Linked DNA regions of Homo sapiens: region 1 is linked to region 2. The links are contacts of gene promoters, found by promoter capture Hi-C in blood cells and fetal thymus (Javierre and others, 2016). All regions are on one chromosome and are shown on one strand. Each heading gives the region's core, a stretch centred on a gene start or on the middle of the fragment in contact. The rest is flanking DNA. Distances are from core to core; before and after follow the strand shown.

The links. The method cuts DNA at HindIII sites, captures the fragments that hold promoters and counts their contacts. A CHiCAGO score of 5 or more calls a contact.
Region 1: a fragment that was not itself captured here is called in contact with the fragment with the promoter of SRP72 in region 2 in 2 of 17 cell types (neutrophils and naive B cells); the score reaches 8.4 in neutrophils.

The regions. Positions count from the first base shown.
Region 1 is chr4:55,938,753-55,942,119 of GRCh38, reverse strand. It overlaps EXOC1-AS1 (EXOC1 antisense RNA 1), which reads left to right. Exons shown (of 5, transcript XR_941069.4): 2 at 1,488-1,603; 3 at 3,165-3,263. Among named protein-coding and RNA genes, the nearest start is that of EXOC1-AS1, 7.6 kb to the left of the region's middle. The HindIII fragment of the contact is 1,122 bases long and covers 835-1,956 here.
Region 2 is chr4:56,466,297-56,469,770 of GRCh38, reverse strand. It overlaps SRP72 (signal recognition particle 72), which reads right to left and starts at 2,154. Exons shown (of 19, transcript NM_006947.4): 1 at 2,027-2,154; 2 at 1-118. The coding sequence starts at 2,135. It overlaps LOC124900706 (a long non-coding RNA gene), which reads left to right and starts at 2,213. Exons shown (of 2, transcript XR_007058126.1): 1 at 2,213-2,679. RefSeq lists an enhancer at 2,100-2,309. The HindIII fragment of the contact is 5,513 bases long and covers 532-3,474 here.

The DNA of each region.
Region 1 (3,367 bases), core at 146-2,645, 530 kb after region 2:
AGTAAATGACAACACTATCACTGAAGTCCAACTGCTATCCCCAAGGCATGTCAGCACAAAAAGCTGAAATAATTGCTCTTATCTGAGTCCTGATATTGGGGAAAGGAAAAAAGCTTAATATCTGTACAGACTCCAAATATGTATTTCTTGTGGTTAAGGCTAATGCTGCAATTTGGAAAGAAAGAGGACTACTAACTAGGAACCACTCGCCTGTAGAGCATGGGCCTGAAATTCTCTAGTTGTTGGAGGCAATACATTTGCCAAAAGCCATTGCTATAATCCATTGTAGAGGGTATCAAAGGCCTTAGCTCCTATAGCACAAGGGAACAAAAAGACGGACAGGTAAGCAAAAGCAGTGGACTTCAAGGCGCAATCTCAAAAAATCTTAGCACTGCTTCCCTTCTATGATTCCCCAGTAGAACCTGAATACACATCACAGGAGGAACGGATTATAAGGGAGCAAGGGGGACAGAAACAAGGATCTTGGTAGTATATGGGATCAAAAGTATATATCCCTCAAGCAGCCCAATGGAAGGTTATTAGAAACCCTGCACAACTGTTTCCAGATGGGGAGAGATGCCACTCTGGCCATAGCAAACAGGGTCTTTATTGGGTCTAACTTAGCCTCAGTAGCTAAGCAGGTCTGTCAAGGCTGCTTGCTGTGTGCATTTAACAATCCAGGAAACAAGATCCCTCCACTAATGGAACCAGTCCAAAGAAGGGGAACTTACCCTGGGGAAGACTGGCATTTGGACTTTACCCATGAGCCAGCTTGCAGATGATACAAGTTTTTTGCTAATACTGATAGATACCTTTACAGGCTAAGTTGAAGCTTACCCTACTAGAGCAGAAAAGGCTAACGAAGGTGTAAAAGTCCTCTTAAAATAAATAATTCCACAGTTTGAGTTATCCCAAAGCCTCCAGAGTGATAACGGCCCATCCTTTGTCTCCCAGATAACTCAAGGGGTGGCTAAGGTGCTCAGAATTAAATACTATTTACGTTCAGCATGGAGACCTTAATCCTCCAGGAAAGTAGAAAGAGCTAATCAAACTCTAAAATGGGCACTAGCTAAACTATGCCAGGAAACATCAGAAACTTTGGTCAGTTTACTACCCGTACCCCTTTTGAGATTCTGTAACTCCTCAAGGGCAAAAGTAAATATGAGCCCATAGGAAATGCTGTGCTGGAGACCCTTCTTAACTAATGATCGAATAACTAATCCAGAAACATCTGGGCTAATAAAATACCTAATTAATCTGAGAAAATTTCAACAAGCATTACAAAGGTTCTGGAATGAAAGGCTTTCCATACGAGGAACTAACCAGCAACCCAAGATTAGGTCAGGAGATAGAGTACTTATTAAAACATGGAAAGAGGGGTCACCTGCTCAGCAGCTACAACCCAATGGAAGGGACCTTTTTAAGTTATAATAACCACCCTCTGCAGTTAACGTGTTAGGATTAAATAGTTGGATACATCTTTCCAGGGTCAAGCCTGCAATACCTAAAGCTCCAGACCTGGAACCCAAAGCTCCCATCAGTCGCTACCCTGTGAACCTGTGGAGGATCTGAAGTACCTGTTTAAAAGGCATCCAAAAGATAGGTAAATCCCTACTGACTTTGCTGGTGTCTTTGTTGCATAGTTACCGTGGAGTAAGTAATCCTAGTTATTTATATATATTTATCATTTAACTGCTTGCTTCCCCCACAATGGAACCACTTTTTATGTCCATAATCCTATTTTCACCAATATTGGGGGTCCAGCTTCAATACCAAGTGTTAAAACAGATTCAACAGTTAGCCACGCTAACTTAACTTCTTGTTACATTTGTACCTCAGGATCACTATCAGCTGAAGTTTTACCATTACCATTAGAAGATATAGTCAAGGTCAATGCCAGAGTCACTGTTGCCACCCAGTCAGAAGTTACATATCCCAGTCCAGCTGTGGAAAGCTTATTCCTAACAGTCTTATCTCAGATCATAAGAAACAACCCAAATTTAAATTTTACAAATGCCCCAAATCCTGTAAGGGTTTTTCACAACCTAACCTCAGACAGCCAATTCCCAATTTGTTTCACTTCCCACCAAACGAATGGGACCTTTCTGGGATCCCTAAACAATTGTTTATATGAGGTTGTCCTCAGTTGGACAAATCAAGAGAAACATTATAATTCCTCAGAAACAAAAATCAATTCATATTGCAAACTAGGAAAATAAAAACAATTCCTCCTCCTTAAGTATCCTGATCCAAGGCGACCTCAATATACAAGTAATACCAATTCTTCCAATATTTCCACTGGTTGGACCACAGTGTTAATCAACAATTCATCTTTGCCTCTAGCTCAAGCTTTGGCTTGGGGGGTCCAAAGATCATTCTTAAAATTCCACCTCGGCTTATCTTTCCACTCTAGGCTTAATGCATAACTTGCTGTGGCTGGAACACTTTTATGGGAACAACTCACTGGAACTTCCTCTAGTGGCTCAGACACACCTTTGGAACTAGCATCATGGGGATATGAAGTATCTTTGGACCCTGGGCAAGAGTTTATTTCATATGTGGAAATTCAGGGTACATGAGTCTTCTGAGCCAATGGAAAGGGACTTGCGGCATCACTGCTTTACTTCCAAGACTGTCTTATGCAAATGCTAGTACAAAATTCCCATTCCATATAAGACACAGCCATGCATTTGTAAAAAGGGCAGTTCCAGCAGTATTACATCCTTTAGCAACTGCAATAACAGGACTTTTAGGAACCACACTTGGGTCCATTTCTCTTCACTTGTCTTCACAACAAACACAGGCTTTGGCAGAAATTACAGCAGCTATCCAAGAACAATGACATATAGATTCCCAGGCAGGCATTGTCTTACAAAACAGGAGGGGGCTAGGTCTCCTCGAAGCTAATCGGAGGGGATTATGCATTTTTCGAAAAGAAGAATGTTGTTTCTATATTAACTCCTCAGGCAAGGTAGTGGGACATCTGACTGAGGCAACTAATATAACCAATTTATGAACTGCACAAAACACCCTAAATTCTGTTTAAACAACTGCAAAAAGTTGGATAGCCCATTTTACAGGACCCTTAACTGTAATTCTTCGGTTGTTCATTTTTGGCCCTTACACTGTAAATTTGCTAACCAGATTTATTTCTTCATGTTTAGAATCTATCAAGCTACAAATGGCTATGTTGCCTGAAGCCCCAGACATCATCCTACAAGAAATAAGTCCAGACTTCTTAATTTCCCCCTGGATAGAGCAGGGTAAGAGTTCTGTGGTCCCCTGTTAGGTGGGGCCAGCAGTCCCACTCAGCTGGAAGCAAGTATAGAAGAAAGAACTTCAACCCTCAGCAACCTATTATGATTTA
Region 2 (3,474 bases), core at 905-3,404:
GCTAACACTTTGGTGTGAGTATTGATGACATTCAAAGCTTCCTTGAAACTTCCATTCTGGATAAGGCATACCACTTTACAATGCAGGGCAGTTACGTCATCTTTGTTGATCTGTAGTACTAGAGAACAATTTTAGGAAAAGTCATTTTTAAATCCATTTCCTTTTCACATTTTTACTAAATTTTCCCACCCTGTCTCTCCGAAAGCTAAATTTCTACTTTTATTGCAACAGAAATAATTGGTCAGAACAACTGGAAGAAACAGCAACAAAACAAAACAAACCCAGAAAACAACTAATCTTTGCTTTTAACTTAAGAAGTGACAATAAGGAGAGTTATAGATTAAATTTTCAATGAGATAAAGATTCCCAATATACATGTACCAAAAAAGTGCAGTGAAATAAAGAAGAAAGAAGCAATTTCTCCAGATATTTCATCTTGAAATGCATGCTACATTCTACATAGTTCATTACTTCACAGGGAAAAAGTTCAGGTAGAATTTGGAAGCAAATGACCTAGGTTTGGTGCAAGCTTGCCACTAAATGCTTTGAGGTATTGGGCATATCACTTAACAGCCAAATCTCAGTTTTCTTAGCTACAAAATGATTAGAAAAGCATTACCTATTTAATAAGGTTACTGACAATATGAAATGAATATTTTGGAAAAATCTTATAAAGTATAATACAAAGGCAATTTATCTTGCTGGCAACGTTTCCAAAAATCATTAAAATTTCCCCTTTTCAACTAAGATGACCAAAGTATAAGGAAGAACTCAGGTGGCAAGTTTCAACGCTAACAACTGTTCGGTGTTAAAATGACCAGGATCATAGTTACTCTTGCTCCTGTGCAACTACAGAAGTCCAATTCTCAAAGAATCACAAGAATTTCTACCAATTAAGAAAACATACTGGTAAACAAGTTGACAATCTTTGCTGATTAAAGAATTCCTGCAAAATACTATACTAAGTATACAGTACTGGTTGGAAGGCTAGAGTTAATTCAAACAAATTTAGGGATCAAATAATTCTAATTCGTAGCTATTTTCCTCAATGTCTGAAATCACCAAAAGTGCACTGTGGGCACAATCACTACTTTTCACGTTAACCCAGTACTAGAGTGTTGAAAATTACTTAGATAGCTTTGCATGTTACTGACACACCTTTTAGGTTACTGCTACTCTGAACAGCTAAGCCCTGCCTTGGTAATTACATTTCCAAATCTAACATGCACAGGCTGTATCTTCAGTAGAGAAGAACTGCGCACCACCGAGAACATTAAGCAGCATGGCCATATTCCAGGTATGTAGTAAGGAACAAAAGAATATGATGAATTAAACCTCACACCAAAGGCGGTAAAAACCGAAATCATCCCTTACAGGGCAAAAAAACAGGCCAAACTTTTCTTCCGACATTATTTCAAGTGTTGGTGCTTCCACACACATATTTCCTAACTTAATAACACTGAAGAGATCTCATCTATGGGAATGACAGGCCTGACATCCAGATCCAGCCCTTTCCTCTCGCCCCGTAGAACCCGTACAGCTTCCACCTGGTTAGCACCAGCCTCTAAACTACGTGTCCCAAGCAGGTTCCTCCCCCTTTAGCGGCCAAAGAGAACAAGCTCCCTCAGCAATAGAGTCCTGATCACTGCGCTCAAGACGAAGAAGAAAAGGAGGCACTTTGGAATATTTGTGAAATAAAGCAGCAAAGGAGTCAAATAAGAAAACAGTTTGAAATGGACTCCGGGAGCTGCGGTCTCTTTAAAACCTTCCCTCGCTTCCCGCGGAGGGTAAAAAGAGAAGTACACGTGGCTGTAAGCAACCAGGGACCCCAGGCTGGCCTGGTGAAGCCGAGGAGTGAGACCTGCGTCTTCCGGGCGCTAGGGCCCGAGCCGGGCGGACAATAGACGGGGGGGTTTCGGGGGTCTCCCCTTCCCGTGCCTCCCGCGCGAGGTGGTCTCGCGCGCCGGAAACAGGCCGCATCCTCCAGCCGGCCTGGGCCCGCCCCAGTGCCCACCCCGACACTTACTCTTATTGACGGTCTTGAGAGCGCGCGTGAAGTCGCCGTTCTGGCCATACCGGTTCACTTCACTCCACAGCGCAGGTACTGACACCCCCCCGCTGCCGCCGCTCGCCATCTTGGAGGAGACGAGGGGCGGGGCGGGGAGACCTCTGCCCCGGAACAGGATCTCCGAGGCAGCCAAGAGGAGGAGGAAGTCGATGATTGCTAAGCGTCGCCGAGTTGGGAGTGTCTTCAGCCCTAAGGCAGCATCAGAGATCATAATCTTCTGCTCTCGTGGCAAGAAATTTGTGCGGATAGAGTTGATACACCTCACTTGAAGTTGGCCTGGAGAAAAGAGGCGTCGGACTCCTGGACGGGGTTGGGAAACGGTCACCAGTTTCGGCTCAAAGCAGCCTGTTTCCAGGAGACCGCCATGGTCGAGGCAGCGTCCTGGTCCCACGGTGCGGGGCCGGACGATCATTTATGGGATATAAATAAAAGGACTATGAGGTGGTAAATAAAAGACTACCAACTAGAAGCCATAGGGAGTCATTTGAAGGAGAAATAGGCACGGCTCATCTGTGGTTGAGGGAAAGGGATCTTGAAAGATGATTAGGAGAACTTGGGTTCTGGGGAAAGTGCGGGAAGACATTCTGGCAGAGAAGCAAACGTGAGGAAAGGTAAGAAGGCAAGAATCTCCCATTACAAAGGGTTTGGTGAAACCCTTTGCCTGTCCTTTTCGCTCCCTTCGGGAGCAGTCGGCAATAAGCTGGAAGGGTAATGGGGTGAAAATGCCCGTGGTCAGTTCCCTGGCTCTGCGACTCACTAGATGTCTGACAATAAACAAGTTACTTAGCTTCTGGGAGTCTGTTTTCCCGATTGTGAAATGGGGATACTATATTTGTTCTAGAGATATAAAATATTAGGGTTTGCTTGCGACCGTTAATATCAAGATGTGTTCAGATGTACGAAGGGAATGGATATCTGTTGGGTACACTTGATGTGAGTGATTTTTTTTTTTTTTTGAGACGGGGATCTTGCCGTGTTGCCCAAGCTGGTCTGGAACTCCTGGGCTCAAGCAATCCTCCCACCACAGCCTCCCCAAGTGCTGGGATTACAGGCATGAGCCACCACACCAAGACGATGTGAGTGATTCACTTGATGTGAATGTTGTATTTCATTGAATGGCCTGCTCTTCAGACTCATATCTCGTCATGACCTTTACAACTTCTACTACTTCCTGTGTCCCTCAGGAACCTAGCTTTTTTTTTTTTTTTTTTTTTTTTTTTTTGAGACGTAGTCTAGCTCTGTGACCCAGGATGAACCTCACTGCAATCTCCACCTCCTGGGTTAAAGCGATTCTTTTGCCTCAGCCTCCCAAGTAGCATGAGCCACCACGCCCGGTTAATTTTTGAATTTTTAGTAGAGATGGGGTTTCACTGTGTTGGCCAAGCTGGTCTCAAACTCCTGACCTC